Regions from separate parts of the Homo sapiens genome. Here all the other regions are linked to region 6. Evidence: promoter capture Hi-C in 16 types of primary human blood cells and fetal thymus (Javierre and others, 2016). All regions are on one chromosome and are shown on one strand. The core of a region is centred on a gene start or on the middle of the fragment in contact, and the rest is flanking DNA. Distances in the headings are between cores, read along the strand shown. Region 1 holds the start of DLGAP1-AS3 (DLGAP1 antisense RNA 3). Region 2 overlaps DLGAP1 (DLG associated protein 1). Region 3 has its middle 40 kb from the start of LINC01895. Region 4 overlaps DLGAP1 (DLG associated protein 1). Region 5 has its middle 17 kb from the start of LINC01895. Region 6 holds the start of DLGAP1-AS1 (DLGAP1 antisense RNA 1).

What was found. Contacts are between HindIII fragments. The CHiCAGO score rates a contact against its expected background, and 5 or more counts as called.
Region 1: a contact is called between a fragment that was not itself captured here and the fragment with the promoter of DLGAP1-AS1 in region 6, in 2 of 17 cell types (monocytes and M2 macrophages). The highest score is 9.2, in monocytes.
Region 2: a fragment that was not itself captured here is called in contact with the fragment with the promoter of DLGAP1-AS1 in region 6 in 1 of 17 cell types (monocytes); the score reaches 5.5 in monocytes.
Region 3: a fragment that was not itself captured here is called in contact with the fragment with the promoter of DLGAP1-AS1 in region 6 in 8 of 17 cell types (naive B cells, naive CD8 T cells, M2 macrophages and 5 more); the score reaches 9.9 in naive B cells.
Region 4: a fragment that was not itself captured here is called in contact with the fragment with the promoter of DLGAP1-AS1 in region 6 in 1 of 17 cell types (erythroblasts); the score reaches 6.0 in erythroblasts.
Region 5: a contact is called between a fragment that was not itself captured here and the fragment with the promoter of DLGAP1-AS1 in region 6, in 9 of 17 cell types (naive B cells, M0 macrophages, M2 macrophages and 6 more). The highest score is 9.0, in naive B cells.

What each region holds. Positions count from the first base shown.
Region 1 is chr18:3,875,736-3,880,579 of GRCh38, reverse strand. It overlaps DLGAP1 (DLG associated protein 1), which reads left to right. Exons shown (of 13, transcript NM_004746.4): 4 at 440-1,468. The coding sequence starts at 512. It overlaps DLGAP1-AS3 (DLGAP1 antisense RNA 3), which reads right to left and starts at 2,400. Exons shown (of 3, transcript NR_038895.1): 1 at 2,289-2,400. LOC124904238 (a long non-coding RNA gene) reads right to left here and starts at 2,755. Exons shown (of 4, transcript XR_007066270.1): 1 at 2,468-2,755; 2 at 2,173-2,248. The HindIII fragment of the contact is 1,178 bases long and covers 2,972-4,149 here.
Region 2 is chr18:3,858,882-3,863,484 of GRCh38, reverse strand. The region is part of intron 4 of DLGAP1 (DLG associated protein 1); the gene reads left to right. Among named protein-coding and RNA genes, the nearest start is that of DLGAP1-AS3, 17 kb to the left of the region's middle. The HindIII fragment of the contact is 2,155 bases long and covers 1,654-3,808 here.
Region 3 is chr18:3,307,871-3,312,676 of GRCh38, reverse strand. No RefSeq gene overlaps it. Among named protein-coding and RNA genes, the nearest start is that of LINC01895, 40 kb to the left of the region's middle. The HindIII fragment of the contact is 5,204 bases long and covers 1-4,063 here.
Region 4 is chr18:3,990,407-3,995,361 of GRCh38, reverse strand. All of the region lies in intron 3 of DLGAP1 (DLG associated protein 1), which reads left to right. DLGAP1-AS4 (DLGAP1 antisense RNA 4) reads right to left here. Exons shown (of 5, transcript NR_102696.1): 2 at 2,160-2,271; 3 at 13-145. Among named protein-coding and RNA genes, the nearest start is that of DLGAP1-AS4, 31 kb to the right of the region's middle. The HindIII fragment of the contact is 2,341 bases long and covers 1,593-3,933 here.
Region 5 is chr18:3,331,420-3,335,793 of GRCh38, reverse strand. No RefSeq gene overlaps it. Among named protein-coding and RNA genes, the nearest start is that of LINC01895, 17 kb to the left of the region's middle. The HindIII fragment of the contact is 1,823 bases long and covers 1,465-3,287 here.
Region 6 is chr18:3,590,928-3,595,363 of GRCh38, reverse strand. It overlaps DLGAP1-AS1 (DLGAP1 antisense RNA 1), which reads right to left and starts at 1,250. Exons shown (of 3, transcript NR_024101.1): 1 at 1,124-1,250; 2 at 880-944. The region is part of intron 7 of DLGAP1 (DLG associated protein 1); the gene reads left to right. RefSeq lists enhancers at 1-78, 1,491-1,610 and a silencer at 199-493. The HindIII fragment of the contact is 5,788 bases long and covers 353-4,436 here.

The DNA.
Region 1 (4,844 bases), core at 2,311-4,810, 280 kb before region 6:
ACAGAGCTCTTCCAATAATGCGTTCAAGCTGTTTTAGGGGACACTGATTAAGTTCTGCCAAAAAAACACGGTCGCAGATGGCACCCTCAAGAGATCAATACCAGGCCTGCAGGGTTGCTCACGCCTGTAATCCCAGCACTTAAGGGAGGCCAAAGTGGGAGGACAGCTTGAGCCCAGGAGTTCGAGACCAAGCCTGGGCAATATAGTGAGACCTCCTCTCTACAAAAAATTAGCCAAGCGTGGTGGGGCCTGCCTGTAGTCCTAGCTACTCGGGAGGCTGGTGTGGAAGGATGGCTTGAGCCCAGGATGTGGAGGCTGCAGGAAGCAGAGATGGCGCCTGTGCACTCTAGCCTGGGCAACAGAGCAAGACCCTGTAAAGTGCAATACCTAATTTCCAAGAGAAATGTTAACGACTTTGCCCTTTTCTTCATTCCCCCAGATCCCTGCCCAAGACGGGTCTGGAGCCTGACTTCCGGGTGTCCATGACCCTGGCGGCTGCTTCCGGTCCGCCATGAAAGGGCTATCAGGCAGCCGCAGCCATCACCACGGGGTCACCTGCGACTCGGCCTGTGACTCGCTGTCGCACCACTCCGACCGCAAGCCCTACCTGCTGAGCCCAGTGGAGCACCACCCCGCAGACCACCCATACTACACCCAGCGGAACTCCTTCCAGGCTGAGTGCGTGGGCCCCTTCAGCGACCCGCTGGCCAGCAGCACCTTCCCCCGCAGGCACTACACCTCGCAGCAAGAGCTGAAGGACGAGTGTGCCCTGGTGCCCCGCACCCTGGCCACCAAGGCGAACCGCATCCCCGCCAACCTGCTGGACCAGTTCGAGCGGCAGCTGCCACTCAGCCGCGATGGCTATCACACCCTGCAGTACAAGCGCACGGCCGTGGAGCACCGCAGCGACAGCCCCGGCCGCATCCGCCACCTGGTGCACTCGGTCCAGAAGCTCTTCACCAAGTCGCACTCCCTGGAGGGGCCGTCCAAGGGCAGCGTCAACGGGGGCAAGGCCAGCCCTGACGAGGCGCAGGCGGCGCGCTATGGCAAACGCAGCAAGAGCAAGGAGCGGCGCGCGGAGCCCAAGGCCCGGCCCAGCACCTCCCCGGGCTGGTGGAGCTCGGACGACAACCTGGATGGTGACATGTGCATCTACCACGCCCCCTCGGGCGTGATGACCATGGGCAGGTGCCCCGACCGCTCGGCCTCACAGTACTTCCTGGAGGCCTACAACACCATCAGCGAGCAGGCGGTGAAGGCCTCCCGGAGCAACAACGACGTCAAGTGCTCCACCTGCGCCAACCTGCCGGTCAGCCTGGACACCCCGCTGCTGAAGAAGAGCGCCTGGTCCTCCACGCTCACCGTGAGCCGGGCCCGGGAGGTTTACCAGAAGGCCTCGGTGAACATGGACCAGGCCATGGTGAAGTCCGAGTCGTGTCAGCAAGAACGCTCCTGCCAGTACCTGCAGGTACCATTTCTGTCAATGATGGAGGCTTAGAAGTAGTACCTGGCATGCTTGTGTGGGCATTTCTCCTGGTTCTAGTCTTGGCACTACTCTGAATTGTCTATTAAGATAGGAACCTGTGCAAATTATTCGGCATCTCTGTGCCGAATTGCTCCTGTAGGGAAAATGAAAAGAAACAAATGCTACCGACCTCACCGGGTTATCTTAAGACACTAGATATCCAAGTGCTTTGAAAAGCACGCCTATGGAAAGGCAACCAGTTATTATGGGCTTCCTCTTTTGTCTGAGGGATCATAGGATGGGAAAGAGAGGAAAGGGAAGTCTACAGAGAATTTTAAAAGAAGTCCACCTTTCTTTAATTCAAAAATACGTGACGATCGTTTGAATTTTGGAAAGAGTTTCATTAGATCTATTCAGGGTTTTGTGGGGTGGTTTTCATTGTGAAATCCTGCCTGAAGCTATGTTAGAATACTGCGATGGTCATCATCATAACCATCAGTAACTACACCCCGACCTGAGCTTCCACATCGAGGGCACAGCAAATCAGGAAGACGCCCTGTGCCCTGAGGAGGTGGGGAGCTAGCCAGTTTGGGGACCTGACAAGCACAGCTGCAGACACCCAGGACAACAGAGAGGAGGAGGAAAAGGAGGAAGGATTAGAGAAGTAAAATACAATTAGTGTCAGCATGTAAATCCCACACACTTACAGAGCCACGGTAGGCTGCTCTTCCCCTGCCACTGTCTCCTTGTGTTTTCCTCCAGTTCACTGAAACCAGATGTTACCTGGATAAAAATATAGGAGAGAGATGTTTTTCTTCCCTACCTCCTTGCTGTAGTATTGTAATTTTTCCCAAGGCACATTTTTCCATAAGAACTCTCATCTTTTCCTTTTTCAGAGTGTCTTTTCTTCTCTGTTCTCTCCTGGTAGCCTCATCTTAAAAAAAAAAAAAAATTACTGAGCTATAAAAGTATAACATACCCACTCCCATTTTACACTCCCACCTTAAGAAGAAATGCAAAGAAAAATTCTTCCTTTGAGGAGTTCATCTTTTTTGCTCCCTTTGAACTCCTCCTGACAAGTCTGGCTCCCTTGGGAATGCCTCCATCAATCCCTGAGAAGACCCCAAGCTGGCAATCCCTGGACAAGGGCAGTGCCAGAGCCTGTTCTTGGAGTTCAGAAGAAGCCACCAGCACATGGACAGTTTTCATACACGACACACAATTATGTGGTCAGTACTTCCCACTGAAGCTGGTGTTGCCTAATTTCCTGTAAGGTTGCTACATGTTAATAAGTTATCAAGAACTATAACAATTTCAGAGCTCAAAGAATCATTTAATCCACTTAGCATATGAAAAAGTAGACACAAAGAAAGGTAAATACTTAGTGGGTTAAACCGTTAGCATGTGGCAGAGGTGGGACTAGAACCCAGTCTCTTAACTTAGAGAAATGGCCATTAATGAAAGTTGCAACCGAAAGCTCTAGAAACTCTTTAAGAACATAAAGCTTCACCCACCACTGAAAGTAAAGTATTTCGATAAGGATATCTGTCTTACAAAAAGTAAGGAGTAAAGAGATAAAAGCCCTAGAGTACCACACATTTTGTCTGCGAAGGTTCTATGACCAGTGGCAAAAACAAAACAAACTGAAAGGAAACAAAAACAAAAACAAAAACACCTGTACTTAAGTAAGTAATGATGAGATTAGATGAGAAGTATCAGAGTAAAGGATGCTGTGTATGGATCTAGCATAAGCCTTTGTTAGTAATGAAATGTTTTCGTTATATCTGCCTATATGCCTACATTCTTCCTTCCTTAGGTTCATTTTTCTTTCTTTTTTATACCTTTTTGGAGTTGCGATCTCAGGTAGTGGTGAAAAGTGGAAAGATAAGGAAAGTGATATTAATTGAAAATCTACTATATACCAGATGCTATAGCAAATGTGTTCCCATTTCTTATTTCATTTAATCTTTGTGATAATCCCAAGATTACTGAATGTAATAATATTCTATTTTTATAAGAGAAGAAACTGACACTTAGAAATATCAAGTCATTTAAAGCCCCACAATCTGGAGGTTGTACAACTGAGATTTAGGCTCAAGTATGTTTGATGCCAAAACCAAGCTCTTTCTAATATGCCCTAGCACAGACCTGAAATCAAGGGCATCAAAAATGGTGAGCAAGAAGAAAATAAAAATCTTTAAAATAAGCATATTATTATTAAAGTTTTTCAGTAAAATGAGAATGAAATCTTAAAGGCTTAAGTATGGGATTTAGTAGTAGCATTATTGGATCTCCTACTATAAAGATTTGGAAATTCTATTTTCAAACTATTTGCCTTCTTTAAGTCATTTTTGTAATGAAACGTTTGAGGCTTACAGAAAGGTATAAAGAAAAAAAATAAAACACCCATGTATACATCACCCGTCATACAGAACTAAAACATTCATTACAATGGATCACAGACACACTCATATTAATCCCTTTACTTCCCTTCTTCCCCAGAGTAATAGCTCATCTGTCTTTGACACCAAAGCACCTTTGTTTTCAATTCTGAAATTATTGAAAGGTTGAAAACAGTTTAACATATTCTGTCCTACATTGGGAAATAATTAACCAAGCTAGTTCAACCTTTTAAACTAAACTCCAAGTTAATCCTTATTAATAGATATTGAATGTATTAAGCTTCTATTTATGCAAGACTTTCAAACTAGGGGAAAAAATCTATATTTCAATGTTGGGAGGTAGTATGTTAGTAAGAGAATTAAATGTAAAACAGTGTAGACCTCCCAACCCCTGTGCTGAGGCTGAAGAGATGCTGTAAAGAAAGGGAAGAAAGAGCCATATATTCATATGGGGTCAGAGGAGAATAGAAAATACCTCCTGAGAACTGGGCTTCTGGCTCCCTTCTTGCTTCTAGGAAATGAAAAGAGGATCTGCCACCCCGTGCAAGCTCTGCTGAGGAAGATAGGGTTAGCCCGTGCCAGCTAGCTCCAAGGGAATAATTTCATCTATAGGCTCATTCTTAGAAGTAAATTTGGGAAAACAGAGAGGGAAAGAGGGTTTCTTTGGAGTTCTTTTTTTTTTTTTTTCAGCTCTATTGCCTTAATTGCCAACTAATATTGAAGCTGGATTTACAAATGGATTTAACTTCAATATTAGAGACTTAGTAGGCAAAGCACTATTCTTCTAGTTCCCGGAGCGTTCTAGTCCTTATTTGCTGCTAACTAGTAACATGACCTGGAAACATGCTTTCAGCTCTCTGGACCTCCTTCCTCTGCTAGAAAATGAGGCGCTTGGTCCAAAAGATGTATGATCTCAGTATGCATTTTCAAACTCGTAAATTACATGTGTCAGAGTACTAATTAGAACTATTTTCAAG
Region 2 (4,603 bases), core at 1,482-3,981, 270 kb before region 6:
TAATGAACGGGTTTATTACCAAAACTTAACTTTATCTCCAGATTATAACACCTGAGGATGTAGCTATTAGATTGGGATGATTTTTCTAACAAAGGCATCAGATCCCAAGTAAAAGGAAGAGTTTCTTGTTATTAAAAATGTGCTATGAGAAACTGGATGAACACATGAGGCATAAAGCAAAGGACATTTCCCTATTTGGTGAAATGAGGGCAAATGAGCCCTAGGGTTCCTTTTAAATCAGGTAGTCTAGTTCTCTGCTGTCCCACGTGGTAGCCACTAGCCACATGTGGATCTGTAAATTTCAATGAATTAAAGTTTGAAAAAAATAAAAATCCAGTTTCTCAGTCACCGTAGCTACGTTTCTAGTGGTCAGTAACCATGTTTCCTGTTGTTTATTAATCCCTCAATCAACATTTCCGTCATCACAGAAAGTTGTATTGGACAGCATTGCTCTAATTGTTTTTTACTCTCTTGACTTCTAGTAGATTGGGGCTTTGCCATAAAAAGGTAATACCCTGTGGTGATGTCCCAGTGATTAGAGGTGTCCAAATTGCCTGGTAGTTTTCTGTGTGCCCAAAGCGGGGCAGGGAGGCCCAGTGAGGGCGAGGGCCGCCCTGCTTGAATGCCTGTCCTCCATGCCCTCACAGTGTGGCATTAAATAAATCATTCCACCATTAAAACTTCTTTTTCTTCATTTGCAAAAATACTTACCTCGTAGAGTTGTTTTGAGGAGTCAATTATGTAACATACCTAGCTTTCAATAAGTACAACTCACTTCCCCTTAGAAACATGAGGACTAACATGGGCCTGGGGTTTTGGTGGGATTCTTAGCCACCTTTTATTAGTCACTCATGACCTGCTGGCCATTGTGCTGGGCACGTCATGTGCATTATCTCCCTGGATCTTCCCACCCACCTGGCGCTGTCCCCTCCACGTGCCTGTCGGCTCCTCTGCGTTTTGTACCTCCCTCACCATCAGCCAAGTAGGCAGCACCTTACGTGATATCTCCATTCTCACGCTGAGTTTTGGGCGGTAGTTGCTGAAGCTCTCTTTTGGACAGTAATCCTCATCTGTGATTCTCTTCCTCATTTAAGAAACATGTCTGCAAAACTTTTCTTCTCCTCACATTTACTTGTAAATTACAATGTTTTGACACCTCTAGGAGCAATATCTGGGTGCAGATGGATATGGCAGTTGGCAATGCATCATCATATCTGCTACAGCCAGTCCCTTGGCTGGTGCCGTTCAGACAGGGCCCCTCATCCTCTGACAGGTTCAGTTTACGTGTTACCCAAAAGACTCCTGTCTACCCCACATTGCTTATGCCTTTGGCCAAAGGGAAAGGGCTTTCCAGAAAGGCCCTTGGAGTGTCCATTATGGCCTATCCAGGGTACTGGTTTAATTGAACCCTGTTTGCTGAGACAAGTGAGTCTCAAACCTTTCCAATGCACATTGAAAAATGAACATGATTGATGTACAAGTGTCAACGTCTGGCTTCATTTGTTTACTCACCAGACTTCCAAAGCTGCATTTTTCGTATTGCTCTCTGAAACCAGGCACTCTTTCGCCATCTTTGAGGCCTGGAAAGAGAGAGATCACTTCAGCCCAACAAATCAGAACAATGCCATTGGTGGCAGGCCCATTGGAAAAGCTTATTGAGGCAGGATTCCCTAATGTGGACTGTCAGAGGAAGATAATGTTTAGGATTGGAACATCAGCAGGGTTGTCACTAGTCAGGCTGGGGCAGCACAGAAGCAGAACTGCTGAGATTGCACATTTGACTGACTTCTGAAATAATCCTATCTCAAAAAGACCTTTGGATGGGGTAGAGGGCAGGGTGGGGGCACTGGGCAGAAAGTCAAGCGCAGAAGGGCAGGGCATCTCATCCACCTAATTCAGGTGTTCTCTATCTGAGGCTGTGTGCCCTGTAGGATGTGCAAGATTGGACTCTACACAATCAGCAAACTCCTGAAATTATATAAAAGTCAGGGGAGTGGGTGAGATGTTCATCTTGCTTAGAAGAAAAGTTCTTAGCCTTTATCATGTGCCCAGAAGAAATAAGGGGTCACTAACAAGTTTAAATTATGACATTTAAAAAATTATATGCTTTTTCCTTAAAAGCATAAAATTGATGGCTTTCCTTCTTCCTTATGATGACAGTTTATTAGGAAAGCCTGTAGAATAATTTGAGGAATATAAAGTTTTTAAAGAATTATTATTGTGGATGAATATTAGCTGAAGTGAACAGATCCTCTATTGGAATTTGGAGCTCCTATAACAATGTAATCCCTGTCATAGGATTTTTTGTAAAGGAGTTTTTCCTGAATAATCGATTCAAGTAACAAACAATGAAGATCTTCTCTATATAAGCGTCGAAGTTGATAGGAAATGGGAATTCAAAGACTTCTAAAACAGTTCCTACTCTGAAAAAGTTTATAGTCCAGTGGAACATTAAATAACTAAATACATGGGCAAAGGGAGAAGCATAAAGGTATCTGAACAAAGAATAGGGAAGTTTACAGAAAGAATTTAAACCTGGATTGTAAGTAAGGAAGGATGGAGGATAAGGACGTTTCCTCATTTGAAATATCATATCTCTGAAGCCTTGAAAGTATTTCTATGGGAGTATAACGGGAGAGATTTCTCTTAGCATTTTCTCATTATTTGTTAATCTCTCAATAGTTCAGCCCTATATCCCCCATGCCTGACAAGTACCTGAAAATCACTTAATTCCATCTGCAAAGTCCCTTTTTCCATGAAACGTCACAAATTCAAGGGCATGACACCAGGAGGTGGAGATCATGGGAGCCAAAATTCTGTCTGCCACAATAATTCAACAGTCAACATAGATGGTAAATTAGTGAGGCGTTCACCTTCATTGACAGCCATGCAGTTCAAGGGCCATGAAGTTCATTCTGGGAAGAGTAAATATAGCTTTGCTACCAGAAAGCTGTGTTCAAATCCTGTGTTTTAGCAGTTATACAACATTGAGTGAGATATTTCATGTCTATCTGCCATGGTCTCCTCCTCTGTAATGTGGAGATAATAAAAATACCTATCATACAGGGTTGTCAAAAGAATTAATTGTGTTAATACATGTGGAAGGTGCAGACCAATGCTTGGAAATGGGACATTATATGATGCCTCAATAAATCCTATTATTATTATGCCTGAAAAAACACAGTGTTAGCAGTGTGAACTGAAGCAAGAGAGCAGATTTAAGAGACATTGCAAAAGTTACTGTTAGAGATTACAGTTTCACTTATCAGGGTTTTGAGCACATGAAACCCTTCAGCATCTGTATTAACTTCCTATGGCTGCAATAACAAAATGCCCCCAATTTAGTGCCTTAATACAATGCAAATTTATTTATTTATTTATTTTTTGAGACAGAGTCTCGCTCTGTCGCCCAGGCTGGAGTGCAGTGGCGCAATCTCGGCTCACTGCAAGCTCCACCTCCCAGGTTCACGCCATTCTCCTGCCTCAGCCTCCCGAGTAGCTGGGACTACAGATGCCCACCACCACGCCTGGCTAATTTTTTGCATTTTTAGTAGAGACGGGTTTCACCATGTTAGCCAGGATGGTCTCGATCTCCTGACCTCATGATCTGCCCACCTCGGCCTCCCAAAGTGCTGGGATTACAGGCGTGAGCCACCGTGCCTGGCCCACAACGCAAATTTATTATCGTACAGTTCTGCAGGTTACAAGTCCACAATGGGTCTCAATGAGCTACAATCAAAACATCAGTAGGGCTATGTTCCTTCTGGAGGTTTCTAGAGAAGACACCCTTTTCTTGCCTTTTCAAGCTTCTAGAAGCCACCTACATTCCTTGACTCCTGGCCTCTTCCTTCATCTCCAAAGCCAGCAATTGCATCACCCTGATCTGTGTCTGTGGCCACAACTCTCGCTCTGACTTTCCTTCTACTTATTTGTGATTATATTGGGCCCACTTGATAATGCACGACAATCTCCCCATCTCAAGACCAGTAAATTACTCACATCTGTGAAGTCCCTTCTGCTATATAAGGTAACATTCACAGGTTCCATGGATTAAGACATGGGCGTCTTTGGGGAGTCCGTAATCTGCCTACTACAGAATCTACTATCTAAAACATAAGCTATTTCTTAAACTTAATACCATTTTTTTAAACTTGGTGTGAAAGATGTGTGAAATTATATATCTATTGCCTATCAGCTAAATGAGATCATTGTATATATGCACTGGTCCCTGGATATTTCACGTATATGGTGATGAAATGAAAATACCATCCATTTCTGTGTTTTTTAGATTATTTTAAAAGAATACTCTTCTAAAATAGTTAGGCAGCATGTCCATTCAAATCACTATTTGAAATCAGAGCACTTGTAGATGGTGTACTTACTTACATACTCTGCAGTATACAGTCATTCACTCTTAAATATTGTTAATTTTTGAGTTGCAATTAATTTTTTAGTCCCTGTTAAAAATTGTCACCTGCTCTAACATCTCACTTAAAATATACTTATAACCTCATGTATGGAAAAAGCTCTGAAGCATGAAAGTTCTATTGTTCACTCTTCTTGAAACATAAGCATTCAATAGCTTCATCCACCACTTTTCTTC
Region 3 (4,806 bases), core at 212-2,711, 280 kb after region 6:
ATAAATCTTTATGGACTAAATTACATATTCTTCAAATACATTAAGAAAAAATTGCAAATGCACAAAGAATTTTAAAAAGACAATAAGAGTAAAAGACATTCACTCCTTGGGAAATTCATTTCCAGTTCTTTGAAAAATACTAAAGAATAGGCCGGGCGCGGTGGCTCTCGCCTGTAATCCCAGCACTTTGGGAGGCCGAAGCGGGCGGATCACGAGGTCAGGAGATCGAGACCATCCTGGCTAACACGGTGAAACCCCGTCTCTACTAAAGATACAAAAAATTAGCCGGGCGTGGTGGCGGGCGCCTGTAGTCCCAGCTACTCGGGAGGCTGAGGCAGGAGAATGGCGTGAACCCGGGAGGCGGAGCTTGCAGTGAGCCGAGATTGCGCCACCGCACTCCAGCCTGGGCGACAGAGCGAGGCTCCATCTTGGAAAAAAAAAAGAAAAAGAAAAATATTAAAGAATAGCTAGAGGCCAGGCGCGGTGGCTCAGGCCTTTATCCCAGCACTTTAGGAGGCCAAGGCAGGCAGATCACCTGAGGTTGGGAGTTTAGAGACCAGCCTGGCCAACATGGTGAAACCCCGTCTCTACTAAAAAATAATACAAAAATTAGCTGGGTGTGGTGGTGCACACCTGTAATCCCAGCTATTCAGGAGGCTGAGACAGGAGAATCACTTGAACCCTGGAGGTGGTTGCAGTGAGCCGAGATTGTGCCACGGCATTCCAGCCTATGCGAAGAGCAAGACTCCGTCAAAAACAAAAAAAAAGAAGAGATAGAAAATAAGGAATATGATTACGCAAAAAAAAAATACTAAAAGAGAAGAGAATTGAGGGAGACTAATCCTAACAGAAGTGAGCACTGATTCCAAAACTTCAACAATTAACTGACCAATGGAGTAGATTAAAAAGTCCAGAAATAAAACAAACAAACAAAAAAAAGAAGTATTTTTAGGTGACAAAAATCTGTGGAACAAAAGTAATTATTCAATAAACATTGTTGGTTCAATTCACTAACCATTTAAAGAAAAGCATATTTTAACTCTTGCCTTATTCCAAAATAAATTTGAGGCAGAAATATGAAGCAATTGAAATGTTAGGAAATGCTAGAAAAATTGTGAACAAAGTGAGAAAATTTTAAGTACATATTGTTGAAGTAGATCTTCTTTCTAAGCAGAATACAACCCCACAAGCCAAAAAAAAAAAAAGCATACATTTAATTTGATGAAAATATAAGTTTTCTGTTTAGCTTTAAAAAAAAAATCACTCAGTATAGTTTTAGAAAACAAGCAACAGGCCGGGTGTGGTGGCCCACACCTGTAATCTCAGCACTTTGGGAGGCTGAGATGGGTGGATCCCTTGAGCCCAGGAGTTCCAGACCAGCCTGGGCAACATGGTGAAACCCTGCCTCTACAAAAAATACAAAAAATTAGCCAGGTGTGGTGGTGGGCCTGTAGTCCTAACTACTCAGGTGGCGGAGGTGGGAGAATCGCTTGAGCCCGGGAGGTTGCAGTGAGTCGTGATGGGGCCATTGCACTCCAGCCTGGGCAGCAGAGCGAGACCCTGTCTCCAAACAAACGAACAAACAAAAAAAAAACAGGGAAGTAGTTGCCACGCACATCATTGAAAAGGGCTAATTTCATTGACAGATTTAAAATTTCTTATTCAAAAAATATTTGATAAAATTGAGTTTGTGGAGTGTGTGAGTAAACACATTACAAACTCCTGAAAACCTTTTGTTTTATTTTTTAAAATTCTTTATTGAGATAACATTGACATGTAAAAAACTGCACATATTTAAATGATTTGATCAGTTTTGACGTGTAAATAAATCTGTGAAACTATGACGGCTTGAAAATAATGAAGATATCTGTCACCTCAAAATGTCCTTGTGTCCCTGCAATCTCTCCCTCCCTCACTCCTCTTTTCCACCCCCAGTCCCTAGGCAACCACTGAACTGTTTTTTTGCTCTTACGGATTAATTTGCATTTTTGTCATTGTATACAAATGGAATTATACAGTAATACTCTTTTTGTGTGTGGCTTAACTCAGCATAAATATTTTGAGATTCATCCATGTTGTTGTATATATCAATAGTTCATTCTTTTTTCTTTTTTAATTTTTTTTTTTTTTGAGACGGAATCTCCCTCTGTCGCCCAGGCTGGAGTGCAGTGGCGCGATCTCGGCTCACTGCAACCTCCGCCTCCCAGGTTCAAGCGATTCTCCTGCCTCAGCCTCCGGAGTAGCTGGGATTACAGGTGTGCACCATGCCCAGCTAATTTTTGTATTTTTGGTAGAGATGGGGTTTCGCCATGTTGGCCAGGCTGGTCTCAAACTCCTGACCTCAGGTGATCTGCCTGCCTCCACCTCCCAAAGTGCTGGGATTACAGGCGTGAGCCACCGTGCCTGGCCAGTTCATTCTTAATCATTGATAAGCATTCCATCATCAGAATGTTCTACAATTCATCTAGCCATTCACCTGTTGATGGACACTTGGGTTGTTTCCAGGTTGGAGTTATTGCAAATGGAGCTGCAATGAGCATTGGCGTACAAGTCTCATATGGACATATGCTTTTATTTCTGTTGGATGAATATCTATCTAGGGGCGGTAAATCCTGATATGGAAAAATATCCATGATATGTCACTAAATTTAAAAATTAAATATAGCATGTGTACTTGAGTCTCATTCATGTACATTTTTAAAAGATACACAATTTTATATGTGCTTCATCACTAACTTCACAGTTTGGCTGAACTCCAAATGTCTGACAATTAAAATCAATATTTCATTAAAACAATAACTAAAGCAGATTATACCACCATAGAACGAAACTGCTGGGTTACAAGAATAAATCTGGAATTAATTTAAAAATTCAAATATTAGTTAAAAATTTACTAGTCATATTTTTAGATGATAAACATCTGTGGGACAAGAGTAATTACTGAATAAGTGGTGTTGGTTCAATTGGTTAACCATTTAAGGAAAAACATATTTCAATTCCTGTCTTATTTCAAAATAAATTCAAGGCAGTGTTTCATGTAAAATATAAAGTAATCAAAATGGTTGAAAATTTTGTGTGAAATGTGAAATTTTAAAATATAATTTTGAAGTAAATTTTAAATATAATTTTGAAGCAGAGCACAACCCCACAAGTGAAAAAATAAAACATGCAATTCATTTGTGGAAAATATAAAGTTACTGTTTGGCTAAAATAAAAGTTACATAAATATAGTTTTTAAAAAACAACCAATAAAACTAAGAAAATATTAAATACCAAATAACTAAATAAAACTCTTAAGGTGTATTTGGCTTACCTAATTCACCAAACAAGTCTACAGAAATTTGAATTTTGATACTCTCTGATCTCAATTATTCTTCCTTTTATTAATACTTTTTATAAACACTTGTGGACTCAAAAAAGTGTTGGATTTTTTCTTAAAGTTATCAAACTATTTTTTTTTTTTTTGAGACAGAGTCTCGCTCTGTCTCCCAGGCTGGAGTGCAGTGGCACGATCTCGGCTCACTGCAAGCACTGCCTCACGGGTTCACGCCATTCTCCTGCCTCAGCCTCCCGAGTAGCTGGGACTACAGGCGCCCACCACCACGCCCGGCTAATTTTTTGTATTTTTAGTAGAGATGGGGTTTCACTGTGTTAGCCAGGATGGTCTCGATCTCCTGACCTCGTGATCCGCCCGCCTCGGCCTCCCAAAATGCTGGGATTACAGGCGTGAGCCACCGTGCCCAGCCTAAGTTATCAAACTATTTTAATCTGTGCACTGCCAGTCTATTGCCTTATTTATTTAACTATTTGAAAATTCTTAATATATCTAAATGAATGAATGTGGTAAGTTGCAATAAATATTTACAAAAGCAGAAGGGAGACTAGATTTCACCGAAGAGCTGTGAATTGCAGATCCCCTGACCTGGGTGATAATTGATCATGCCCTGAGAATGCTAGAATGGGGATGCTGAATTTGGCATTTGACTATTAAGTCGACCCCAGGCCAAATATGAAACCAGATAGATTATGGCAGAACATTGAGACCAAGGTGAACTACAAAGCTTCCAAAATATACACCAGTAGAAGCATCACGAAATTTTTAGAAAGATAAATAATTGTCTTGGTTATGTCTGGGGAGTGGAGACGAGGCTGGGGTAGGGAGACTTTTGCTTTTCATTTCATATTGTTTACTTTGAAGTTTTTATCATGTGCATTTATTACTTTAAAACAAAGTCGGCTGGGCACAGTGGCTCACGCCTGTAATCTCAGCACTTTGGGAGGCCGAGGCGGGTGGATCACGAGGTCAGGAGATTGAGACTATCTTGGCTAACATGGTGAAACCCTGTCTCTACTAAAAATACAAAAAAAAATTAGCCGGGCGTGGTGGTGGGCACCTGTAGTCCCAGCTACTCGGGAGGCTGAGGCAGGAGAATGGCGTGAACCAGGGAGGCAGAGCTTGCGGTGAGCTGAGATCACGTCACTGCACTCCAGCCTGGGTGACAGAGCGAGGCTCAGTCTCAAAAACAAAACAAAAAACAAAGTCTAAGGGCAATTCCTTGCTGAAGGACAGGATACACAGAATCAGAAAGTTTGCTGTTTAGTATCAAATAAATATTTGTTGTTGTGGCATTTTCTTTTTTTTTTTTTTTTGGACAGAATCTTGCTCTGTCACCAGGCTGGAGTTCAGTGGTGCGATCTCAGCTCACTGCAACCTTCGTCTCCCATGTTCAAGCAAATTTCCCCTGCCTTGGCCTCCCGCGTAGCTGGGACTACAGGTGCACGCCACCATGCCCGGCTAATTTTTTT
Region 4 (4,955 bases), core at 1,514-4,013, 400 kb before region 6:
TTTAGTTCCTACCTCATTTTAACCTTCACTTGTATCCACCATTCCTTCTATTTTCTTCTATTCACCCGGGCTTCTTTGCAGCACAGTCATTTTAAGAATATTCTGAGAGCATCTTAGCTCTCACTCCATTTCAGCTCAGTGAATTCTAAGGCAACAAAAGTGTATTAAGTAATTAATCCATAATGCCAGCCACTACCTAAAAAAAGGATAAGGCCAAAGCTAAAAAAAAAAAAAATCAAAAGCTAGGAAAACTTATTAACATTTTCTAAAATTACATTGTTGTTGCCTATTTTAAGGGCATGAGTAGTGACTTTATGCTACATTTTGCAAAAAGTATTGAGCATAATCTATAGATACTTAATGTATGATGAGGTAAACATTTACACCTCAGACTCAGAACAGGCAGACAGCTAAGTTCTCTCGCTTTTTAAATATGCAATGAATTTTCTAATAGTCAAGTAACAAATCTATTTCTCTTTTAGAAAATTAGAATCTATATGTATTAAAGAGCTGTGCTCCAAATTGTGAGTCTGGCCTACTTAAATTTGAATAAATCATTCTAGAGAGTTGACATTATTTAGTTTTGAACAATTCTTGAAGTCTTTTTGGACTTTATAATTTAGCAGCAGGTGGTTCTGGTCATTTTAAAAGTCCGTGATTAATGTAACTAATCCTAGTTAGTGTTTAGTCATCTCTTCAGATCTTTTGTACCTGGAATTTCTAGAGCCTATTTGCCTGAAATTGTATAAATAATAAATGGTTTGCTGTCCTCTATATAGTGGCAAGCATCCAGGTTTCTGCAACTCGAAATTTCAGCTCCTCTCAGCTTCTATCAGGTTTGAGATATTTTTAGCCGCACTCTGTCAGTCAGAATCCCATGAAAGAGAATCCCATTAAGAGAGTTGAGGTGAATTTAGAGAAGGGTCTGTTTATAGAGCAGGGAGCAGGGTTAAGAAAATACAGCCAGAGAGGCCGAGGTACCCAGAGACAAGCACAGTGGGAAGCCCTCGCCACTCTAGGCCTGAAGAGTCAGATGAAGGGAAGGAACGGGGTCCCCAAGCCTATGGGCACTAGAGCTGTGGACAGGCTGCCATCGCAGAGGGGCAGATTGCTGCTGAAACACCAGCACAGGGAGGAAGTGGCACAGAAGGACCCAGAGCTGTCTCCCCCACCCTCGGCACCCCAGCCAGGGCCTTGCCTGGATCACCCGGTGCCAGGCAGGGAAAAGCCAAGCACTGGGGAAGGTGGCCTAGGAAAGGGAGGGTCACAGGCCACTGAACATTCTCACTCTTAATAAACAGAGTTTTACGCTTCAAGGGGGTCTCTGTGGTTCTTCTCTCCTTATCTTTTTACTTCACTCACCACATTCTTACCAAACCAAAAGGAAAACAACAGTGGAGGGAAAGTCTTACACATGTCAGGCTTTTAGACAGAACCTTTTATTCCTCATCTCATATATATTTTCTGCTCTATAAAAAACTAAAACTTTATCTTCTCAACATCTCGCTATGATAAGCTTTTAAGTGGGTCTTAAGCCCACTTAAAAGATGCTGCACCCTGATTTTGTTGCTGCACCCTGATTTGGGGAAGCTTGGTCAGTGATCCCATGAGAAGGGAAACTATGAGAGATTCATTCTCTCCTGAATCGCTTAGGAGGTCCCATTAAAGCCCCTGCTAAACTCGTCATCCCCAGTCTGGACCACGTTTGGTTAATTTCCAGTTTTTCCTTTCCTTGCAATAACCTGCTTGAAACTCCACCAGGGAAAATAAATAATAATTCAAATGCAAAACGCGTTGTCACTTTTATAAAATATTGCTCTCCTTGCCCCACCCTCACCCCCTCCCTTTCTCCCCTTCATGATTTTTACTGAAAGGAGGAAAGACAAGGAAATCTCAATGGTTTCATTCTTAGCACACATTCTAAGTCTGTCATTAAATGACCGCTGATTTTGTCACATACATATGGACAAAACTCTGTAAGAAAGCAATTGATTAAAATCAATGAGAATTTGCTGCGCTGAAATGGAATCAGTGAATAAAAATTTATTCTGTTTCTTTTCTTTTTTCTAAGAGTCCTCTCCATTATTCAAAAGAAGCCTGTCTTATCCTGTTTCCAAACTCCTTTTCCTTTTCTTTCCCCTATGCTGTTGATTTCCTACCTTCTTCCCACGTGAGTCGCCGGTGCAAGAGGGGGGTTCCTGCTTGGGTACCCACATCAGTAGGTTTTGTCTCCTCATCTGCTTGTCTTCTGAAGATAAATCGTTGGCAGAACTGAAAAAAAAAAATCATGGAATGGCTTTTTTACATTTCTGCCAGGGGGAGGCTATTTTGTAATCTTTTTGCAGCCTTCCTGTGCACAACCCAATCCCAAGCTGACTTGATTATCTCCTTAACTGTTAAGAGCAAAATTTAAAACTGGATTTTGTTACCTGCCCCAGGAGCAGATGCTACATTGCTGAGGTGTCTTGTGAATTGCCAGCGTTCCTTTTCTTTTACAGACAGGTCTTAAAGGTCTTCCAGGGACCCCCTATTAGCCAAATAACCTTGATAGTTATTACAGAGAAATTGTAATTCTTTTTGAAAGTATTTGTACACTCATCCATGCCAATATTTATAGATCAGTTGATTTTTCCAGGTTGTGTAAGTTGCTAACAATGGAACTCCATTTATTTATTTATTTATTTAGAGACAGGGTCTGGCTCTGTCACCAGGCTGGAGTACAGTGGCATAATCACGGCTCACTGCAGCCTCTGCCTCTCAGGCTCAAGTGATCCTCCCGCCTTAGCCTCCCAGTTAGCTGAGACCACAGTTGTGCACCACCACACCTGGCTAATTTTTGTAATTTTTGTAGAAAACAGATTTCACCATGTTGCTCAGGCTGGTCTGGAACTCCTGGACTCAAGCATTCCACCCGCCTCAGCCTCCCAAAGTGTTGGGATTACAGGCGTAAACCACCGTACCCAGCTGAGACTCCATTTAAATAGGTGGCTTTTATGTGAATTATTAATTTTGATAAAGAGAAGAGAAAAGCTGATAGATCAGTGTTTAAAAATCATTTTATGAACTAAGTTCAAAAGAACAACTAGGGCCTGCAGACTTCCCTACTTTACAAAGTAGTGGCCTGGCCAAGGATGTTCCAAACAAGAAATCTTTTCAAACGTGCTTTAAATCATTAAAATAGGGGACCAATATGAGTAAACCAATATAATGAGGCAAACTAAGTAGGAGATTTTTAATGAACATTTTCAAGGCACAGGGAAAGAAGCCACAAAGAGTAACAGCATTTTTCTGCACATACTGTCTTATGAATCTAGATTCATCTTGTTTATTGTGGAACTATGTGATTGGGTTAGCCATCAGGGGAGAGAAGTACTTTATGATGTAAAAGCTGAGTCTCCAGAGATAAAAATCTCTTCAATTTGTCATTTTTCAAAATATCACAAAGAATCCATGTTTCCGTGGTCTTCGATAAAGAAAGCGTGTCAAGGCAAGATATACACAAAAAAATAAATCAAAGTGGTTAGTTACAATGGGATAAGCAACAGCTACACTGAAAAATTCTATATGTAATGCAGTTTTCTTTTTGTGTGGAAAAGAGTAGGACAAGATATGAGATTCCTGGTCTGGAGAGTGGGTGAGATATTAACATATTAAAGCAGGAATGTCTGAAACATGCATTGTGTATTTTCCACTGTCTCAGCCCAAATCAGGCATAGCTCTGGGGAGAAGGGAGAAGGGCAATACCAACCAGAAAGTATCTCTGTGATTCTTCAGGCTGCTTGGGCAGTCAGCCTCCAGAAGAGACCCCACTCAAATCTGGGTCATCCAGGCACACTGGCCACTCACCACCTCTGCGGTGTTATTTCAAGGATGCTAACCCCAAGGTTCCCACCACTGCCACTGGCCAATATCTGAAATTCCCCTGACAAAGCTTCCTCATTAGCATAAGGTTTGGACTCCTGAAATGAACCAACCATGTCTCTTAAACTTTTCCTTGAACTCTATCCCCCCACCGGAAATACAGAGAGATGAGTAAATACAAATATATAAGAATTCTATTTAATTCTAATCATTTCAATATTTACTGAAAAAGTCTGAGCAAGACATCAGTAAAAAACTATAAAATCTCAGAATGGGCTTGTGCTTTAGAGATACAGGAAATGAGGTCTTTTGTTTTTTGTTTTTTTATATTAATATTTACTTTATTAGAAATTAAAACAAATTTTAAAAAAATTTGAAAAATTACCTATAAAGTTTTATGCTGATTACCTGGGTGACAAAATTATCTATACACCAAACCCCTGTGACACACAATTTACTCATGTAACAAACCTGCTCATGTACCCCTTGAACCTAAAATAAAAGTTGGAAAGGAAAACTAATAACTCCATTAAATCTTCACATAAATAACATACATTTTAGAAAAAAAATAACCATTTTGCCAAAAAAAAGTGAGTGGTTTTATTTTACATTTTTATAACTAATAACTGGTTTAATAGAAGGCAGCTAAATTCCTATATCTGCCTCTTTATTCACTCTGTTGCATGTACTATGTTGTCTTGGTCAAACTGTAGAAGGCAAATCTGGCTTTACATACATATATAATGTGAGAAAGGAGGAGTATTTAATAGCACATATATTTCTGGTTATTCTTCTTTTAATACTCAACCAAAACTCAACAAGTAGTAATTTCTTTTTATTATTATTATTATTATTATTATTATTATTATTATATTTTAAGTTTTAGGGTACATGTGCACAACGTGCAGGTTTGTTACATATGTATACATGTGCCATGTTGGTGTGTTGCACCCATTAACTCGTCATTTAGCATTAGGTATATCTCCTAATGCTATCCCTCCCCCCTCCCCCACCCCACAACAGTCCCCAGAGTGTGATGTTCCCCTTCCTGTGTCCATGTGTTCTCATTGTTCGATTCCCACCTATGAGTGAGA
Region 5 (4,374 bases), core at 1,127-3,626, 260 kb after region 6:
GGAACTTCTTTTCCCAAGGTTCTGGGATTACAGGCATGAGCCACCATGCCTCACTAAAATTTTTTTGTTTTGTTTTGTTTTGTTTTAGACAGGGTCTCACTCTGTCACCCAAGCTGGAGTGCAGTGGCGCTACCTCAGCTCATTGCAACCTGTACCTCCCTGGCTCAGGTATCCTCCCAGCTCAGCCCCCTGAGTAGCTGGGACTACAGGCACACAGCTCCATGCCCAGCTAATTTTTGTATTTTTTATAGAGATGGGGTTTTGCCATGTTACCCAGGCTGGTCTCAAACTCTTGGTCTGAAGTGCTCCACCAGCCTTGGCCTCCCAAAGTGCTGGCATTACAGGCGTGCACGCCATTGCACCCAGCCTGAAAATTTCTTAAGACATTAAACAAAGCTACCCATCATCTCAAGTTATTTTTCTGTTAACTTATTTCATGTTAACTTATTTTAGGCAATTATCAAAAAAATCAAAAAAGCAAATAACCTAAAATAAATAAAACTAAAATTTAAAAAGTTAAATACTTTTTTTCTGTGCTTCATATACAAGAAATAATGGATATCATGCAATTCATTTTTATCGCATCTTTACTCGTACATTTGTTCTTTAGGTTAAGTTTATAGTTTTTTAATCTTAAACATCTGACAGATACAAGGTTATTTGACTGGTAAACCCAAGGCGAATAAAATGTATACTTGTTTCATGCTTAATGCTGATAACTTGGAAGACATACCACCTGTTTTTATTAAACCAACAAATTCAATTTAGTCTTATTTACCAAAGATTTACCCAAATTACATGAACTTGAAAAACATTTGGGTTAGTTTCTATACTTCTGAAAGTTTTAGGAATATTTTAATTTATATAGCCCTTGTTTGTCTAAGCCAATTAGAACTCCTTTAGGGGATTTTAGAAATTAATTTATTAATACCACTCAGAGATAGGAAAGTATCACATATACATAACATACATGCATGCATACAAACTGGAGCAAATAGAGATCTGATGGCTTTCATCCTAAAATTTTTAGCCATCTATAACAATAGTCACAGCACCCAAGGCGTAAACACAGTAACACAAAATTCACTGGTTTACAAGAGTTGGTTCCTGTCTTTACTCCCCTTTATGTTTTTATCCAAATTGTATTTTTTATTAGATGGAATATGTTGAGATTACCAGCTCAATATGAGGATTAAAACTTTCCATGGATATTTACAGGAAAGAGTTTAAGATTTTTTTTTTTTTTTTGTAATCTTATGGAATCTGTGTACTAAGATTTAGGACTGAGTTTGTGGACTAAGGGACTGAGCACACATCAAGAGGTTGTGTGGATGTCTCCAAATCCCATCTGAGTGGATGAAACATCCATTCTATTTTCAATAAGCCTTTTTAGCCTCATATGATTGCATTTGGGGGCCCCTGAACCCCTCAAGAGCCCCTGTTGATGGGAGGAGAGCTAAAGCTTGAGTGACTGTAAAGAGATGGGGGGCTGGAATGGGAAAGAAAAGATCTGACAGGGGCAGACAGAGGGATGGAGGAGGTAGGGTCTTGAAGGGGACATGTCAAAGGAGCTGAAGGGAAGACTCGAGGCAGTAAAAGGAGGAGGAGAGATGGTAAGAGAGAGGTTTTAGAGGAGCTAGTTTGGGGAGATCTTAGTTTTCCAAAAGGGCCACTAAAGTCCCATGACTTTATCCTTATTAAAGTCTTATCAACAAGAAAGGAAGTGGCCAAATTTACCACCAAATGGAGTCACTCACAGGGTCCCCAGCAGAGACCCAGGAGTCTAATGCTTAAGAAGGTTAACATTTACCAGCTTGGTCAGAGGTCTGAGATCGCTGCTGTCTGTAGATTGAGTGGGGAGTCCTAATCATTCCATCCTACACTTGCTGAAAGTGTAGAGAAGAAACTTTGTTTATCCACTGATACGGGTTGGCTGTGTCCCCACCCACATCCCATCTTGATTTGTAGCTCCCATAATTCCCATGTGTTGTGGGAGGGACCCGGTGGGAGATAATTGAATCATGGGGGCAGTTTCCCTCAGACTGTTCTCATGGTAGTGAATAAGTCTCATGAGATCTGATGGTTTTAATAAAGGGGAGCCCCTTTTTGCTTGGTTCTCATTCTCTTTTTGTCTTGCTGCCATGTAAGATGTGCCTTTCATCTTCCACCATGAGTGAGGCCTCCCCAGCCACGTGGAACTGTGAGTCCATTAAATCTCTTTTTCTTTATAAATTACCCACTCTCAGGTATGTCTTTGTTAGCAGCGTGAAAACAGACTTTTTGCCACTGACTGGCAAAATGTTGGGAGCCTGAGAATTAACTTACAATAGACAGATTAGCAGGAGAAAATAAAATACAATGTTTATTTACATGCGCATGTGGGGGTACTCATTACTGAGTAACTCCCTGAATACTCAGAGGTAAAGAATTATATACCAACTTAACAAAAAGTGGGAGTAGGGTTTGGGCTTCAATGGGAAAGTAGAGAAGGTTCTGTTAGCTTTTATTATGCTGATGGGTAGCAGAATTCTTACTTGCTGATGCTAGGGCCAGTCTTCTCCCAGTCAAGAAACTCCCTCAGAGGGGGATCATAGCAGCTGTAATTCAGGAGGCTCTGCTTAAGTTTACATAATGTTTATTTTTGTAGTTACAGATTTCAGATGTTTCTAATTTTTATACCACTTTGGAGGGCTACTACTCTTTTCATTGGCCAACTTTACAAGTTGGGCAAATGACCGTTCTCTAACCAGAGGCAAGAGTTATGGCCCATAGAAGGTTTGCTCTGAGAGAAAAGTACCCCATACAGTTAAGAGCCCAACCACATGATTTCCAGACAGCTCGTATAGCCTAAAGTATGTCAGTTGAATTACCTTGCAAGTTGTAAACTAATCGACAAACTCAGAATCAATTGGATGTTATTTTAATACCCTATAAGAGTTATGAAATCCTAAGAGTAAGAATAAATGTAGGAATCGAGCAAATTCAAAGTTCTTTAAAGGAACAAGGACAACATTTACACATCTTTGCCAAAGAGATGCAAATCCAATCAAGTGATGTGAGTGGGGTAAACTCTTCTGAGAGAATCAGAAGGGTCTTGGTTTTGGGCTACTTGACCTATCCCTCTTCTGAAATTAAGGAGTAATTGACATAGCAACCACAAATAGAATTCATTTAGTTACCAAAGAACTCAGCCTCCTGGCCAAAATATTTGGTGGTTGGGCAACCTCAAGCTATAGTTACGTGGGAAAATTGTAGCCTGAGTGGGAAGTGCCTTACCCAAATAAGCTTTGAGAACAAAACTCACCGTATTTGTATTTTGGGGTTAAGGAGTTTATACATATTTGATGTTTTATAAACTTATCATGTTTTAAGATGATTGAATTATTCTAAATCCATTTTAAAATACACAAATACATAATTGATTCTGATATGTGTAAGTTTATATCCAGGTCTTAATTATTTAAGAGAATTTCATGTTCAACATATTATCAGTTTAATTGACCATATCAAATTTAAAAGAATTATTTAGTGCTCAGGAATGTTTCATTTATTAAGTCAGATAATTGTTTAATAAAATTAAATATGAATTAAATTTATAAGTGCAGTATAAAAGGTTCTAAAATATTTGATTTTGTTTATAAATAGGACCAAGTTTTAATCAAAGTTCTCTGTAGGCAGGATTCAGTGGCTCATACCTATAATCCCAGCACTTTGGGATGCCGAGGTGGGTGGAACACTTGAAGTCAGGAGTTCAAGACCAGCCTTGGCAAAATGGTGAAACCCCATCTCTACTAAAAATGCAAAAATTAGCCTGGCATAGTGGTGCATGCCTGAAATCCCAGCTACTCAGGAGGCTGAGGCAGGAGAATCACTTGAATCCCAGAGGTGGAGTTTGCAGCAAGCTGAGATCATGCCACTGCACTTCAGCCTGCCCAACAGAGCGAGACTCTGTCTCAAAACAAAAGAAAAGAAACAAACAAAAACAGAAAACAAAGTTCTCTGTAAGGTGATTACCAAATTCACCCAACTTAAAAAAACAGAATTTGTAAGGTGGACTTAAAAACCTAAGGAAGTATTAGATTGTGAGATTTGTATCTTAATATACTGAATACTAATATAACCATTTAAATTAAATATTCTTTTCCTGCAAACAAATCCACCTGTGAGGATAATCCAAAACTCACATTTCACATAGGTCATCGTGAAAATTGAAAGTGATAATCACCATGAAAGTACTCTGAAAAGTCAAGCATGCTCTGTGAGTATAAGGAATAAGGGAGACAGTGATTGGCTCTGCAGCACCTATTCAGCTCCTCTGGCTGCTCATGGCTCTCCCGTGCCCTTGGAAATGCTCAGTTAGGAAAAGGCCTGTTG
Region 6 (4,436 bases), core at 1-2,500:
AGAAGTTTTAGACCTCAGCCTCTGGCCCTGGGCCTTCTGAAATGACCTTCCTCCAAACACCATTTAATTTCCGCTAACTTAGTTAATGAATGGAACTTTCTGAAGACAGCAGTTACTTTGATCTGAACCCCTTTCCTAGTTTCCAGTTAACATAGCCAGAGGGAGACAGAAGGGGTGCCCGCCTCTCAATGGGTGCCCTCTCCTCCTGCGTGGCTGGAGCAGCTCCCAGCTGTAGCTATTCCTCTAACGCAGAGAGAGCTGCAGAAAGCAGTTCCCAAAAGGAAGAAGGCAAGTTACAAATACCGCCGTTGGCATTTTCGTGGGTGTTTCCCGCCACATAGAGATAAAAGCTTTGAGGTGGGGCTTTGAGGCACACTCTCTGGGTAGCTGGGCCTGCAGTCTGGAAATCCTAAGTAATCCTTGCAAATAGGCTAACTGGAAGCCAGCAATACAAATGAGCAGTGCTTCTGGCCTGAGAGAAAGGTGTCTGCATTCAAAGTACAACTTCAGATAAAAATGGAAAATGCCAGTCCCACCCTGCAGGAATCCTGTTTCTGGGCTGTTTATCCTCACTGCCATCCACCCTACCCTTGGCTGTGACTAGGATGTGAAGAAAGAGATTGGGTGGAAAAGGCTACCGCAGCTCTTGCTCCGTTTAACTCACCACCTTAAAAAACATGGCCTTGGCTGCTGCTTTAAAACAACAACAACGAAAATCCCCAGCCCCAACCCAGAGGTTTAACCCTGCAGCTAAGGTGAAGTTTTTGTTAAGGTGATAAGGTAAAAAAGGACGCCATTCTGAGCCTTGACTTCCACTCTTCATACTTTTCGGAAGACAAGTCCAGCAAAGACCTCCACCCCTTCCAAAGAGCGACTTACCTCGTAGCTGATCCACAGATTGCAACGTACAGATGTGATGTTCCAGGCTTGGCCACAAGGGGACACTAGAGAGTAGGACTGCCCGCGTCAATGTTTTGTTTTTTACAGACTTTTGGTTGGGAGGGAGGGAGGGAGGGAGGGGGGTGTGGGAGTGGTGGGGGAGATGCTGGCTTTAAAAAAAAGTCCATTTGTTCCCTGAGATTGTGCCACTTGCCCTTTTATAAGTCAAAGGTTGCCACGTTACCTGTTGCCAGGTTCCTGAGAGTGCTTGGGGAAAATGTGGGCGAGAGAGGCACAGCACAGTCCTCCGGCTTGGTAGGTTTCAAGCTCTTTTGACTGGGCTGGCGCTGACATTTGCAGGGGCAGCTGCTGTGGATTGCCTGCGCATTGTTTGGCTGTAGTTCTAACAGAGGAGTGGCTGCGTCTGACATCATTTCCAGGCATCAAGTGCCTGGGGCTTTTTTTTTTTTTTTTCTTTAATGACGAACTCTCTGACCCCTCCCTGCCTGGATTTTTGTACAGTACATGCACTGTGCAAAACAGCCTCCACTCAGGAAGCCCAAGTTTTGTAGCAGCTTGTTGAAACAACTTGGGTGCCTTTTAAAAAAAATAAAGTTGTGACTCTGAAACAAACCTTTCCATTCTTCCTCCTTGCTGAGAACAATGTTGCGTTTGATTAGCAGCGCAGCCAGTGCTTTCTGAAAGATCTGCTCTCCCCAGAAGAGGCGGCTGCTATCAGTTGAATAGATCTCTAGGCCAGACATGCCGAGGCTTGGGGCATTTGTCTGGCGTTAGGAAGTGTCTGGAATACTAGCAACTACCAACTGGCGTGTCTTATGACTACAGGAATTATTACACTACCCTCCATTTCATTCACATCCCCTCTCCTCCCCTTACACACACACACAAGCATATTTTTTTCTACTTTAGAAAAAGTTGAGCGAGTCATCTTGTGGTTTCCGTGGAGGATGTAACTGGGAGAGAAGACTGTGGGATACCTTGTATCTCCCAGAGGGGGGCCGGGAATCATGGTGTATGACCCACCCCAACAGCCTCTGATCTCTGCCTTCTCACCACTGACCGCCACGCTTTGGGTGGCCTTAAATGTGAAGCTGTAAATATTTTGAAATAAGGTAGTGATTTTTCCATGTGCATTTTGTTTTGTGGCATTTCTCTCCTTCTGCAATATTTTAAAAGTTGCAACTGTGCACCCCTTGTTGACCACTCCAAATTCATTCATTCACTGAAACTTAAGAGTTCCTGCAGAGTGAGGATGGCTGTGCACGAAGGAGTCCCTCGTGGAAACCACGGTGCTTTAGTGGACAAGGTGTTTACTAGAGAGTGTTTACTGGCGGGGGGCGGGGGAGATAAACAAAGGTGGTTTGAGTTAATGGTCAGATGGGAGTTGGAGCCCTGAGTACTCTAACTCTGTCACTGAATCTCTAGATGAGTTAGGGATGTCCGTTGCCTGCTCTGAGCCTTAATATTTTCATCAGTTAAATGGGGATAGTGGGATCTTTCACATATGTGAGATCATGTCTATTTTCTTCTTTTTCTTTTCTTTTCTTTCTTTTTTTTCTTTTTCTTTTTCTTTTTCTTTTTCTTTCTTTCTTTTTCTTTTTTTTTTTTTTTTTTTTTTTTGAGGCAGGGTCTTGCTCTGTCACCTAGGCTGGAGTGCAGTGGCACAGTCATGGCTCATTGCGGCCTCCACCTCCCAAGCTCAAGTGATCCTCCCACCTCAGCCTACCGAGTAGCTGAGACTTCAGGCGTGCACCACCATGACCAGCTAGTTGTTGTTGTTTGGGTTTTTTTGAGACGAGGTCTCACTCTGTTGCCCAGGCTGGTCTCCAACACCTGGGCTAAAGCGATCCTTATGCTTCAGCCTCCCAAAGTGCTGGGATTACAGGTGTGAGCCACCACACCCAGCCCCCATGTCTATTAAGTTCTTAGCACAGTGTCCAGTACACAGAGTAAGGATTTGCTCTCTGGTGATTAGGAAGATCTAATGGCATGTCACGGGTCTGGACTGAATCTCATCTCATCATCTTTGTTGTTGCCAGGGTTTGCGCATTTTTGCCGGTGGAGGACTCCAGCCAGACCGCTGATTTGTCTGGCATTTGTTGGAAAGTCCGGCCAGCATAACACATCACCGCAAGGAGCAGGAGCCCTATGATGCACTGTTAAGTGCACAACTATGGGGTCTGCTTGGCTGGAAGCAGCAGCAGCAAACTTGTCTATTAGTTATTTTGTCCTCATCAGTGCCAGCTGCTTTCCCAAGATGGCAGAACATTCATCATTGCTACCAGACAGCCTCGTTGGAGCTCTTTCTCTGGCCTCCTTTTTTGGCTTCTTTCTTCAGCTCTTCAGCATCATTCTCTGTGGGACCCTCCCTAGTTTGCAAATTCTTGTCTAAATTTCACTCATTATCATAACCATCCAATTTGAAAGAAACCTTGTCATCTAGTTGAGCCCCCTATCAGATGTTGGTACAATTGCTATAGCCTCCCAGCCAAAAGATGTGCTGGTCTGTGCTTGAACAGGTCCAGGGGCTGAGAACTCCCTCTGTTATGAGGTCCTCATATTCCTTCTATGGACGGACAATCAATGCCTGGAGAATTATTCTTTATGCCTCTCTGAGCCCTTGCCTTTGTTGTTCCTTTGGGGACTTATACAAAACAGGCCCATGCTATCCTCTAAGCAAGAGCCCTCCAAATAATTGAAAACCCCCCTTTCTTCTTTTCCAAATGAAACACCCCGTCTTTTTATTTTTATTTTTTGTTTTTTATTTTTGACGTAGTCTTGCTCTGTCGCCAGGCTGGAGTGGTGTGATCTTGGCTCACTGCAACCTCAATCTTTTGGGCTTCAGCAATCCTCCCGCCCCAGCCTTCCAAGTAGCTGGGACTACAGGTGCCACCTACTTGGAAGGCTGGGGCAGGATTCTACCACTCCTGGATAATTTTGTGGAGATGGGTTTCACCATGTTGCTCTAGCTGGTCTCAGACTCCTGAGCTCAAAGAGATCCTCCCACCTGGACCTCTCAAAGTGCTGGGATTACAGGAATGAGCCACCGCAACAGGCCTAGGTCCATACTTCTAATCCTACATGCCTTTCCTGAAATAGACACCTTACCTGACATTACAACCATAAGTCCAATCGTTCCCATTCTGTATTTCTACAATAGAAATACATTTATGTCCCCAGTTTAGGTCCTTCCAAGTTTCTTTTTTTTCTTTTGGCCTCTTCACATCATTTTGTTTTCTAAAATAGCCTGTGGCTTCAAGTTACCTCTTGAATATATTCTTAATCTCACTTGTACTACCTCTGCCCTGTTCCCTGGATTTGCAAATGTTCTTTTCAGTGCTTCTCAGCCTATCTCTGGTAAGGGACCAGTTTGTTTGTTTGCCCTCAATCTGCTGCAGATTAGTGCTTTGGTAAAATGCAACAAAAAAGAATTACTAGAAAGAGGACTTTTTTTTTAAGACATACAAAAAACAAACCCATAATTTTTGTTTTGTTTTGTTTTGTTTTTAGATTCAACAGGTAAAACACTCTATAAA